Regions from separate parts of the Homo sapiens genome. Here regions 2, 3 and 4 are each linked to region 1. Evidence: promoter capture Hi-C in 16 types of primary human blood cells and fetal thymus (Javierre and others, 2016). All regions are on one chromosome and are shown on one strand. Each heading gives the region's core, a stretch centred on a gene start or on the middle of the fragment in contact. The rest is flanking DNA. Distances are from core to core; before and after follow the strand shown.

Region 1 (2,968 bases), core at 259-2,758:
TTGACTGAGAATGGCATTTTAGTTTTCATTTTTCTTCGGCTTCCTTTATCGTCTCTGTTTCTTCTGAGTCCCTTTTCTTCTTTCTCAGGTGTCTGGTGATCCTGGGCTGTCCAGCTGCATTGAAGAGTGAGATGCTTTTAGTGGCTGGGGCTTATGACCTGGTGAGCTTCGAGGCCAGGGATCTGGCTGGGCCATTCTACTGGGCAACACTCTACCCCTAGGTGCCCTGCCAGTCTTTTCTTTTGAGCTAGGAGCTGCTGCAGAGAGGAGCCCTCTTCTCTGAGAAGCCTGATGGCATGCGGGTGGTCAGACCCAGCCCAGGGGTGGAGGCAGGGGTAGGACCCAGAGTCTCACTTACTCCCAGGCTTTCAGACAGGGCCTTGCTTGAGCAGGGCCTCAGAGCTCCTCTCCTGGAGCTCACGTCTCAGACACTGCAGTGCCTGCCAGCCCCGGTGGGTAGGGACAGAGGTCTGGGGTTTCCTTTCTGTAGCTGTGCTTTCACCCACGACCCTCAGACACTGGCCTCCATAGCCAAGTGGGCTGGAGTAGCTCTCGCTGTCCACCTTTCTTAAGCTCTGCAATATCCCAGCTCTTTGCCCTTGCAGGGTTTGTCTTTATAAAACCCCTTTCCTATAATTTTGGAAGGTTTCAGGAGGGAGGCGGGGAATATTCTGCCCTATTTAAGTAGAAGTGTCTGTATTAAATTCTAAATGTTCCCAGGGTTGAAAGGAGGCCTGCCCGGGATGCCTTGTGGCCTTAGGCAGCTGAAGGTGCCTGAGCTTACAGATGTGGCTTCTTCGGATGACCGAGTTGGGGTCTCGGGACTGGGTGCAGCAGATGGCAAATGTCCAGGACAGGCAGCTTTCCCAGCAGTACTGACAGACACCTTGGGCCATGAAAGCCAGTTCAGGGACTAACGGGGCCTGCGGGCTGCGGGTCTAGCGACTGATGTCAGCCAACCTAGGGTCATCGGTTCCCTGGAAGGAGAAAAAGCTGCCAATTGAACGGGGCCTCCCGGTCCCAGGGATGTCGCGACGCGGGGACGACGCATCTCACGACGTCAGCCTGAAACACGCGGGCCTTTCATCACCCGAGACTCCTCCAGCCCAGGAGGGCCCCGCTCTTTCGCCTGCCTCCTGGGGGAGAGCCTCTGGACGACGCACGCGACAGCGTTTTCTCCAAAAAAGGCAGAGAAGAGAAGCGTAGCAGTGGCCGCAAGGGCGACGGGCGGCGAAGGGTACTACGCACGCCCGCGTCGGCCACGCGGAGAGATACGCCCGACTCGAGTCCCGCGGCGCACGCCCCTAGACGCCCGAGGTGCGCGGGCCACGCCCCTCGCCCGGCCAAGAGCACGCCCCTTCCGTCGCCCCTCCCGGGGGCGTTTACCGTTCCTCCCCGCCCCGGAAGCGCGTTCTTACCTCCTTCCTCGCGAGAGTTCCGTGCACCGGCACCCAGATCGCGCGAGACAGCGGAAGGAGCAAGAGTGGGAGGCGCGCGCGGAGGCCGCGACGGACGCAAGATGGCGACGGCGACCATAGCTCTCGTAAGTGAGCCCCCCCATGAGCGCGGGCGGCCCTCGGCTTGCGGGGCCGGGTCGTCGACCCAGCCTGGGCGCGGAGGGCCTCCCAAGAACGCGGCGGTCTTCCCAGGTCCCGCGCGGACTCCCTCGTGTCCCCGGGTCGCGTGAGGCGGGGGCGGGGCGGGCGCGCGCCGGCGGCCGGCTCGCGGCCTCAGCTTCCGGCCTGCGGACCCCAGCTTCCGGCGGGGCGGGGCGGGGGCCTGGGCGCGGCGTGTGGCCCTTGCGGGCGAGCCTGGCGGGGTTGCGTTCCTGTCCGCTAGGTCCGGCAAGCGGGGGTCGTCGTCCTCCCTTTGCCGACGGGGGTGTGCGCCGTGGTCACGACGGAAGCGGGGTTCTGGGGGTGACGCGTGGGCCTTCGGGTTGATGGGATCAGAAGGGGACGGGACCTGTAGAAAGGGGCCTGCAGCTCAGAGCATGGGGCGGCCTTGGCTCACTACGCCTGCAGCTGTGAATTCGTTCTCCGGTGCTGGAGAGGGATCTGGTTATCTCCATTCTCTTGTCTCCACGTGGAAAGGAAGGACGTGCGCTCTCATCCTACGTGTTTTGAGAAATCGCATTGTCCCCAGCTCTGCGGGAGGATCTGGGGACGCAGTGGGGAACCAGACAGGCAGTTGGAGGTCTAGTGCGCACCAGAAGCCAGTTCCCACCCAGGGTGCCATTTGCTGGGCGCCCTAGGGAGCTGCGTGGGCATCCAGAGGAGTGAGTCGCCCCCTGCTCTGCTCAGTGCCCACTTCCCCGGGCAGGGCAGGCGTTATTAACGTAGAGGGAGAACACCCATGCACACAACACATGCACGATGAAGTCTGGTCTTTCCTTCTCACCACTTAGCTTATAGGACCTAATCCCCTTTTGGACCTTTCTCAGCCGCAGTTTACCCCTGTATTACTTGTCACCCTTCCCCCAGCCCACACCCAGCGGGATGGGATAAGGTCTGTTTGAGAAGACAGCTTGGGCAAATGGCTGAAGGCTGGACTGGCAGGACCAGGGAGTGTCCTTAGACTGCCATTGCCAGGCCCCCAGCGGGCGGGCTGGTCCCATGTCCCACTGAGGCAGAAACCAGTTACTAGGGGGAGAGAGGCATTTACACAAGATACCCAGCTTGCGAGGGCAGCCCAGTGTGTGATTCACAGGACTGGCTAACTCCACTCTTTCTACTATGTCCTTTCTCTTGAAGCCACAGGAGTAAGTGACCTTTGAGGGGCACTCCAGAGAGAAAGGATGTAAGGGTTGAGGACCTGGTGACTGTCTTCAGGCAGCAGTCAGAGAGTTGATGGTGAAGGAGGAGGAGGCTCAGAGACAAGGACTGGACATGGGAAGGTGGAGGAGGAGAGTGGATGCCTGACTCCCCTAGCACCCGCAGAACAGCGCCCTGTGCTCATGAGGGTTAAA
Region 2 (2,968 bases), core at 250-2,749, 620 kb before region 1:
GGGAGCAGGAGCCAGGCCAGAGCCTGGCCCAGAGGACAGCGAGAAGCACCTGTTGATGCTGGGGCCACTGGAGGAAGCTCCATCCCTCTACTCTCAGCCCACACCAGGCGGCCAGCTCAGAGCACCAGGCGTGGCGCAAGCAGGGTGGTCGTGGGCAGCCAGTCCCGCCCTGCTGCCTGGACTGTGCCCAGCGGGATGTGGGCCCGAGCAGGCCAGAGAGGCCGAGGGCCTGGGGTCTCTGCGGCAGCCACAGCCCGTGGTGAGTAGCAGCCTTAGCTGTCCTGGAGATACCGGGGCCTCGTGGAGTCTAGGCAGGCTGGGGCACTGTGGCTGTGGCCGTGGCCAGGTGAGAAGCCCCATTCGCGCAGGAAAGACTGGCCACCTGGGAACCCACGCCTCCACGGAGGGACTTGCCGGCCACAGGCTGTGGGCTGCCCAAGAGGACTGTGCAGGCAGGGCTGCCTGCTGATTGGCAGCTCCGGATCAGGCCCGGTGCCTGCAGACCTGGTGCTCCCCTCGGGCAGGGCTGGGTGCCGCAGCCGCCTGCTGGCTTTTCTGGCAGCTCCTCTGTATCAGAACCAATAAAGTGCACTTGTTCTCGGAACCGCATCCTGTCTGTGTGTCTGCTTACCCCGCCCTGGGGGACACCCGGGGCTCGGGGCGGTGAGGGAGGCCAGCGTGGGTCGGGCACGCCTGGGGTGTGGCCTGACACGTGCAGCCTCTGGACTCTCCAGCTAATCCATGTTGATTCTGTTTGTGGTTGTTCCCCTCAAAGCTTGTGTGCACCTCCATTTGCCATAGTTGCGTTTGGCTTGCTTGTGACAAGCAGAGCCCGGTGTCCGGGTAAGTTGCCTTCCTCCCCGGCTGAGCCTGCCCTCGGCCTGGTCAGGGAAGGCGTTGCTGCCCAGCCCTGCCCACACTAACAGCCGGCTCTTTCCGGCCCTGTCTGTCTCCACAGAGGTCCAGTTCCGGCCGTACCGCACAGACGACTTCATCACGCGCCTGTACTATGAGACGCCCAGGTTCACAGTGCTGAACCAGACGTGGGTCCTGAAGGCTCGAGTCAACGACTCGGAGCGTAACCCCAACCTGTCCTGCAAGCGTACGCTCTCCTTCCAGCTCCTCCTCAAGAGCAAGGTCACGGCACCGCTGGAGTGCTCCTTCCTGCTGCTCAAGGGCCCCTACGACGACGTGAGGATCAGCCCCGTCATCTACCACTTTGTCTTCACCAACGAGAGCAACGAGACGGACTACGTGCCACTGCCCATCATTGACTCCGTGGAGTGCAACAAGCTGCTGGCTGCCAAGAACATCAACCTGCGGCTCTTCCTGTTCCAGATACAGAAGTAGGGCGGGGCCTCAGGATGTCCGAGGAGCCCACGGGCGGCATCCCAGCACCGCTGCCCTGTCCACCTGGCTGGCAGCTGCTTCACAGGACTATCTGATCACTTTAGCAAAGGAGGAGAACAAACGAAGCCAACACAGGGCAAGTCTGCATGCGTGCGCGACGGGGCCCCCGCCTCCGGCTCACCCCCCCGACCCCTGCCTCCCCTCCTTCCGAGGGCCGCCAGAGGCTGGGCTGACCCGAAGAGGAGACGGTGCACCAGGCGCCCCGAGGCTCAGAGACGGTGGCAGCAAGGAGGCCGAGAGGCACAGCGACCCTGCCCCAGCCCTTCTGTGCAGTCAGGCGGCGGTGCTGCTCCATCCCTGCGGGTTCCGGCGGGGCGCGGGGGCCTTGCTGACATCAGACGGGATATCCGAATATCTGATAGCAATTAAAAGGCAGCCTTGTTTCGTACTTTCTGTTTTGTTCGAGGGGAAGGCATGGCTGTGAATGGACAGCGTGGGGGCTTTGGTTTGGCCTGGGGGTCAGAGCCTGCCCCGCCCCCATCTGTGTGCCCGCACACGTCCCCCGAGGAAAGACTCAGAGACACTGCCTCCCCCTACACTCTGTCATGGGGTCTTGAGACTGAGGCTTGGGCAGGAAGATCCAGGTAGGGTCGGGGCTGCCCTGGCCAACCGGCCGCTCCCAGGGAGACAGGACTCAGCCACCAGGGCTCAGCAGGCATTTTCCGAAAGCAGGGTGAAATTGTCTCTTCCCAGGAAAAAGATTAAACTCCTTGCAGGCTCTTGGATAAGTTACACAATTTTAGTGAGAAAGAGTCTATTTACTGTAGATTCAGCCTTGAGGGCCCAGCGTCCCCAGGCTGTGTGGAAAGCTTGGGTCAGTGCTTGGGCGCCTGGCTGGGTGAGAGTCTGAGGTGTGTCCCCCATGCTGCTCTCGGGGTCCTGCTGCTGGCCCTGCATTCAGGGCTCGCTGCAGAGGTCAGAGGTTGGGCAGCCCAGCTTCTCACCTGGAGGAGGTGGGCCCTTCCCATCCTCACCCTGGCCGCCCCCTGATGTGCCCCGTGGTGGCTGAGCAGGGCTGGCCTAACAGGATGGGAAGGAACCCTGCCTGGAGGGGTAATCCCTGGTCCTTTCTTCCCCTGGGACTCCCAGGGCTACTGGGAAGGATACAGCTTGACGCCCCCACCTTTGCTTAGGAGATGTGGCTCTTCCGTGATAGCTTTTTGTTGCTTCAATACCAAAGAACTGGTTTCCTCTGCTCCAGTCAGGTGCATTAACTTGCCTCACAGCAGCCCAACCCGCCCCCACTGGCTGCTGGGGCCTGGCCCACATTGTCCTGTGCTTTGCTGGTCACGGGTCGAGGGCTGAGAAATGGAGAGGAACTGGGGGCAGAATGTAAGCGCCATCATCCGGGCGGCTGACCATGGCACAGCCCAGCATGACCCTCCCAGTCAGCTCTTCCCTCCCGGGCCGCCGCACTGCCCCTCACGGGCTGAAACTTTCTGGAGCTGTTTCTGAGAATGCTGTGGGTTTCTACTCCCAGGCCAGGGCGTGTGGCCTGCTGGGAGTGCCTCGCTGCCGGAGCCTTATCTCCTGCAGAGCTGATGTGGCCTGGCCACCA
Region 3 (2,968 bases), core at 177-2,676, 580 kb before region 1:
GCTTTACAATGAGACATTCCATTCCCAAAGACGAGCAGGAGACAGAAGGCTTCCTCTTATCTCAACTGCAAAGAGGCCTCCCTCTTTACGACTCCTCAGCACAGACCCTTTATAGGTGTTGGGCTGGGGGACGGTAAGGTCTTTCCTTTCCCATGAGGCCATATCTCAGGCTGTCTCAGTGGGGGGAAACCTTGGACAATTCCCAGGCTTTCTTGGGCAGAGGTCCCTGCGGCTTCCCGCAGTGCATTGTGTCCCTGGTTAATCGAGAATGAAGAATGGCGATAACTTTTACCAAGCATACTGCCTACAAACATATTAACAAGGCACATCCTGCATAGCCCTAAATCCATTAAACTTTGATTCATTACAGCACATGTTTCTGTGAGCACAGGGTTGGGGCTAAAGTTACAGGTTAACAGCATCTCAAAGCAAAAACAATTTTTCTTAGTACAGATCAAAATGGAGTTTCTTATGTCTTCCTTTTCTACATAGACACAGTAACAATCTGATCTCTCTCTCTTTCCCCCACAGTTTTTGTATTTTTAGTAGAGACTGGGTTTCACCATGTTGGCCAGGCTGGTCTCGAACTCCTGACCTCAGGTGATCCGCCCACCTCGGCCTTCCAAAGTGGGATTACAGGCGTGAGCCACCGCCTCCTATTGACTTTTAAAAGGCGGTTGAGTGTGGCTCAGGGGTCACACGCCTGAGCATCCAAGTGGCCCTTCCCCCACTGCCCAATGAGCAAGTAGATTTGGATGCAACAAAAACACATATTTCCACGCCATTTTCTTGGGCGTAACGATACTTTCTTGTTTTATTTCTCATGATTCCGTTTCTAGGTCCTAGGCCCGTGCCTGATCCAGGATCCAAGCTCCCGGAAGCTGGCACTGGGCCCGCCCTGGGTAGGCAGCAGTGAGCAAGGCGGGCGGACAGCGCTGGGCTCGCGGGGTCCTGCGTCCTCCGCGGGAGTGTTGGCGGCGGGGGTCGCTCTGCGCGGGGACACTGGGCAGAGGGGGCGTGCGGCCTCTCTAGGAAGCTTTCTCGGAGCCCCAGACACTGGCGAGGCGCCGCGCCCCCTCTTCTGGATTCCGGCGCGCCCCCTGAACCCGGGAGCTACGAGCGGAGTCGCTTCTCCCTGCAGCCGTCCTGGGTCTGGCGCGGACGCACCCCCCGGCCGACCCCGAGCCGCTGCAGCCGGCGCCCCTGCGGCTTCCAACCCGCGCTGCTCCGCCCGCAGCGGAGGCCCCGCACTTCGCGCGCTAGGGGTTTGGGTTCCGGACGCCCAGCCCGGAGCCGAGCCGCCAGCCGCCCGCATCCCGGGCCACTAGGGCCCGCTGTCGCCCCTGCAGCCACGCTCACGCGGCGGCGCTGCGCAGGCGCAGAAGCCCGGAACCTTCCCGCCCAGCTTCTGGGCCCGGCCGGACTGAGTTCGCTGCTGTCCCGGTTCCTCTCGAGTCGGCTCCAACTGCCAGGTGGGCGGCCGGGCGGGCGGCCGAGGCGGCAGCGCGAGGCCGGGGAGGGGCGCGGTGCGGGGCCGGGCTCCTGCGTGGGCGACCCCGCTCACCCTTCCTCTCCCGGCCTTGCGCAGCCCGGGTTGGCGCCATGTACGCCGTGTACAAACAGGCGCATCCGCCCACCGGTCTGGAGTTCTCCATGTACTGCAACTTCTTCAACAACAGCGAGCGCAACCTGGTAGTGGCCGGGACCTCGCAGCTCTACGTGTACCGCCTCAACCGCGACGCCGAGGTAGGTCGGGCCCTGGGAGCCCTCCCGGCTGTCCGCGACGTGGGTGCTCTCACCGCCCCCGGTTGCAGATGGAAGAGCCAAGCCCCAGACAAGTTGAGTGATTTGCTTAACGTTCCTCAGCCTGAGGAGCCAGGACATGACCCTGAATCTCTTGTGCTCAGATCCTTTCTCACAGCTGCTACCCTGTTCTGCCTCCCTTCCTACCCCACCGGGAAGGGCGCGCTGCCCTAGCCGTCTTGTTTGCTCTTCCGTTTTTTCAGCAAGTTGTTCGGAAGGAGCGAACGCCCACTGTGCGCTGGGTAGCAGAGATACCATGTGAACCACACCTGCAGACACTTGGGGAAGGGGAACATCTAAATAAACACACCTGCCCCTGCAGCAAGTGCTGCTGCGGGAATAAAGGAGTGAAGGAAGGAGACTGTGTATTTCCAGTCGCATGATCAGAAGAGCCTGTCTGAGGCAGAGCGGGAGTTTGTCGGGGGAAGGACATTGGTAGCACAAGGAACAAGGCCAGGTCTAGGATGGGGACAGACTGTTGACAGGAGTCTTGGTACAGTGGGGCACACGCCTCAAGGGTTTGGGAAATACAGTGGTGTTTTGGTTGCCGGAGGGTTGAAAGCTGGTCCAGGAAAGCAACTTGCAAGAGGCAGTTTCTCCATTGCTCTTGAAGGGAGGAGTACCTCTTACCCAGGCCCAGGGATGGTGAGAGGAGGGTGTTCCAGGCAGAAGAAACAGCCTGTGCACAGGCCCAAAGCAGTTGAGGGTGGAGAGACATGCACAGTGTGGCCGTGGTATAGACTGGATGTGGTGGTGGGGATGGAGGGAGGTAGGCCGTGGTCAGGACTATTCTCCACAAAGCAGGGAGGAGCCACAAGAGGGTTGTGAATAGGGGCTGACCCAGCAGGCAGATGGGTCAGAAGCTCAGGCCAAAGGAGGCCAACCCTCCTGGGCACCTACCCCGGCATACATATGTATTTGCTGGCCAGGGCTCCTGTCCTCTGAAGGCTTGACGAGGGCTGGAGTTTCTGCTCCTAACACACTATTGGCAGGAGGCCGCAGTTCCTCACCACATGGGCCCCTCCCTGGGGCAGCTCACAACATGGCAGCCTCCCTCACAATGAGACACCCACCAAGACTGAAGCCACGGCGAGTCCTGTAACCGAATCTCAGGCTGGGTGCACTGGCTCACACCTATAGTCCCACACTTTGGGAGGCTGAAGTG
Region 4 (2,968 bases), core at 122-2,621, 540 kb before region 1:
GAATAAAATTGTTCATCAATTTTAAGTCACTAACTTTGTGGTAATTTGTTCTGGCAGCCCTAGGAAATGAGGACAGTGTGTCAAAGGTTCATTTAACTAATTAATTTAGCTGGGTGTGGTGGCTCAGGCCTGTAATGCCAACACTTTGGGAGGCCCAGGCAGGTCCTGAGGTCAGGAGTTCAAGACCAGCCTGGCCAACATGGCGAAACCCCGTCTCTACTAAAATTACAAAATTAACTGGGCATGGTGGCGCATGCTTGTAGTTCCAGCTACTTGGGAGGCTGAGGCAAGAGAATCACTTGAACCCGGGAGGCAGAGGTTGCAGAGAACCGAGATCTCGCCACTGCACTCCAGCCTGGGCGACAGAGCAAAACTCTATCTCAAAAAAAACAAAACAAAACAAAAAAAACTGACCACAGTGGCTCATGCCTGTAATTCCAGCACTTTGGGAGGCTGAGGCAGGCAGATCACCTGAAGTTGGGAGTTCCAGACCAGCCTAACCAACATGGAAAAACCCTGTCTCTACTAAAAATACAAAATTAGCCAGGCGTGGTGGCCCATGCCTGTAATCCCAGCTACTCGGGAGGCTGAGGCAGGAGAATTGCTTGAGCTCAGGAGGTGGAGGTTGCAGTGAGCCGAGATTGAGCCATTGCACTCCAGCCTGGGCAAAAAAGTGAGACCTTGTCTCAAAATAAAATAAAATTAAATTAAATAAAAAATAAATCACACTGGGCCATAAAATGAAGCTGGTGTCAGCAAGTGTGGTCCAATTATTTACATAGGTGCAGAAACAGTGCAAATATCCCATATAGGCCACCTTACGTTTGCTTTGCTGGAAGTTTTCATAAGAAATATCAGATTGGGGCTGGGTGCCGTGGCTCACACCTGTAATCCCAGCACTTTGGGAGGCTGAGGCAGGTGGATCACTTGAGGTCGGGAATTCGCAACCAGCCTGATCAACATGGTGAAACTCTGTCTCTACTAAAAATACAAAAATTGCCGGGCGTGGTGGCTCACGCCTGTAATCCCAGCACTTTGGGAGGCTGAGGCGGGCGGATCACGAGGTCCAGAGATCGAGACCATCTTGGCTAACACGGTGAAACCCCGTCTCTACTAAAAATACAAAAAAAAAAAAAAAAAAAAATTAGGTGGGCATGGTAGCACGTGCCTGTAGTCCCAGCTACTCATGGCTGAGGCAGGAGAATCACTTGAACCCGGAAGGTGGAGGTTGCAGTGAGCCAAGATTGCACCACTGTGCCAGCCTGAGTGACAGAGTGAGACTCGGTCTCGAAAAAACAAAACAAAACAAAAATTAGCTGGGGGTGGTGGCAGACGCCTGTAATTTCAGCTACTCGGGAGGCTGAGGCAGAAGAATCGCTTGAACCCAGGAGGCGGAGGTTGCAGTGATCTGAGATCACACCATTGGACTCCAGCCTGGGTGACAAAAGTGAAACAGTCTCAAAGAAAAGAAAGAAATATCAGAGTGGACCTGTATTGTTTGCTTCTTTGCAGAGGCAAGAAACGCAATACCTATAATTTGGGTCAATTTCTATGTTCCTGGGCCTGCCAGGAAATCACCTTCCTGGTCACCTGCAAGGCCTGGGGTCTGCACCCTCAGGAGGATTTGCAGGCACTCCTTCATAACAGCAACCCAAGGTCCGCAGCAGCGGCTGGTCATCCCCAGTGAAAGAGCAGAACTCTCCATATGACAACCTGGACAAGGCCTTGGTGACCTAACCAATTCATCCAATTGTCTTCTGTAAAAGGAGAAGAGTCTCTTAACTGAATCTATGTGCTGTGGTTTGAAAGTGTCCCCCAGAGTTCATGGATTGCAAACCTGATCCCCAGTGTGGCAGTATTGGAGGTGGGACCTTTTTATTTTTTTCTGAGATGGAATCTCGCTCTGTCATCCCAGGCTGGAGTGCAATGGTGCGATCTTGGCTTGTCGCAACCTCTGCCTCCCAGGTTCAAACAATTCTCCCGCCTCAGCCTCCCGAATAGCTGGGATTACAGGCATGTGCCACCACGCCTGGCAAATTTTGTATATTTAGAGAGACGGGGTTTCTCCATGTTGGTCAGGCTGGTCTTGAACTCCTGACCTAGTGATCCGCCCGCCTCCACCTCCCAAAGTGCTGGGATTACAGTCGTGAACCACCACACCCCGCCAGAGGTGGGACCTTTAAGAGGTGATTAGGTCTTGAGGGCTTCACCCTCATGAAGGGATTAATGCCATTATTTCGGGAATTGATTCCTTATAAAAGGATGAGTTTGGCCCCTTTCCGTCCAGCCACATAATGCCTGCTGGCATGTTATGTGGCAGCAGGAAGGTCCTCATGAGATGTGGCCCCTCCCTCTTGGACCTCCAAATCTCCAGAACCAATAAATCCCAGTTTATTATCAATTACCCAGTCTGTGGCATTATAGCAGCACAAAACGAACTAAGACACTGTAGGGTCCAGCCCTATGGGGCTAAGCGGGTGTTGTCCCCATGTGCAGAGACGAGAGATTGTAGTAAATAAAGACACAAGACAAAGAGATAAAGAGAAAACAGCTGGGCCCGGGGGACCACTACCATCAAGACGCAGAGACCGGTAGTGGCCCCGAATGGCTGGGCGCGCTGATATTTATTGCATACAAGACAAGGGGGGCAGGGTAAGGAGGGTGAATCTTCTAAGTGATTGACAAGGTGAAGCAAGTCACATGATCATAGGACAGGGGGCCCTTCCCTCTTAGGTAGCCGAAGCAGAGAGAGAAGGCAGCAAACGTCAGCGTTTTCTTGTATGCACTTACAAGAAAGATCAAAGACTTTAAGACTTTCACTATTTCTTCTACTGCTATCTACTACAAACTTCAAAGAGGAACTAGGAGTACAGGAGGAGCATGAAAGTGGACAAGGAGCGTGAACATTGAAGCACCACAGGGAGGGGTTTAGGCCTCCGGATGATTGCGGCCAGGCCTGGATAATATC

The links. The method cuts DNA at HindIII sites, captures the fragments that hold promoters and counts their contacts. A CHiCAGO score of 5 or more calls a contact.
Region 2: a contact is called between a fragment that was not itself captured here and the fragment with the promoter of PUF60 in region 1, in 1 of 17 cell types (monocytes). The highest score is 6.2, in monocytes.
Region 3: a contact is called between the fragment with the promoter of CPSF1 here and the fragment with the promoter of PUF60 in region 1, in 8 of 17 cell types (M0 macrophages, erythroblasts, M1 macrophages and 5 more). The highest score is 14.0, in M0 macrophages.
Region 4: a contact is called between a fragment that was not itself captured here and the fragment with the promoter of PUF60 in region 1, in 1 of 17 cell types (monocytes). The highest score is 6.0, in monocytes.

The regions. Positions count from the first base shown.
Region 1 is chr8:143,827,855-143,830,822 of GRCh38, reverse strand. PUF60 (poly(U) binding splicing factor 60) reads left to right here and starts at 1,508. Exons shown (of 12, transcript NM_078480.3): 1 at 1,508-1,543. The coding sequence starts at 1,520. LOC107986985 (a long non-coding RNA gene) reads right to left here and starts at 1,543. Exons shown (of 3, transcript XR_001746138.2): 1 at 1,419-1,543; 2 at 785-977; 3 at 1-114. It also overlaps a transcript of NRBP2 not described here. RefSeq lists enhancers at 217-1,416, 737-1,436 and a silencer at 1,221-1,790. The HindIII fragment of the contact is 7,973 bases long and covers 1-2,968 here.
Region 2 is chr8:144,448,761-144,451,728 of GRCh38, reverse strand. TMEM276-ZFTRAF1 (TMEM276-ZFTRAF1 readthrough) reads left to right here. Exons shown (of 5, transcript NM_001408018.1): 5 at 959-2,147. The coding sequence ends at 1,350. ZFTRAF1 (zinc finger TRAF-type containing 1) reads left to right here. Exons shown (of 4, transcript NM_001330618.2): 4 at 959-2,147. The coding sequence ends at 1,350. Among named protein-coding and RNA genes, the nearest start is that of TONSL, 5.8 kb to the right of the region's middle. The HindIII fragment of the contact is 1,444 bases long and covers 778-2,221 here.
Region 3 is chr8:144,407,793-144,410,760 of GRCh38, reverse strand. It overlaps CPSF1 (cleavage and polyadenylation specific factor 1), which reads left to right and starts at 1,426. Exons shown (of 38, transcript NM_013291.3): 1 at 1,426-1,472; 2 at 1,589-1,746. The coding sequence starts at 1,603. RefSeq lists a silencer at 960-1,619 and an enhancer at 1,890-1,939. The HindIII fragment of the contact is 8,279 bases long and covers 1,039-2,968 here.
Region 4 is chr8:144,365,783-144,368,750 of GRCh38, reverse strand. No RefSeq gene overlaps it. Among named protein-coding and RNA genes, the nearest start is that of ADCK5, 6.8 kb to the left of the region's middle. The HindIII fragment of the contact is 9,345 bases long and covers 1-2,968 here.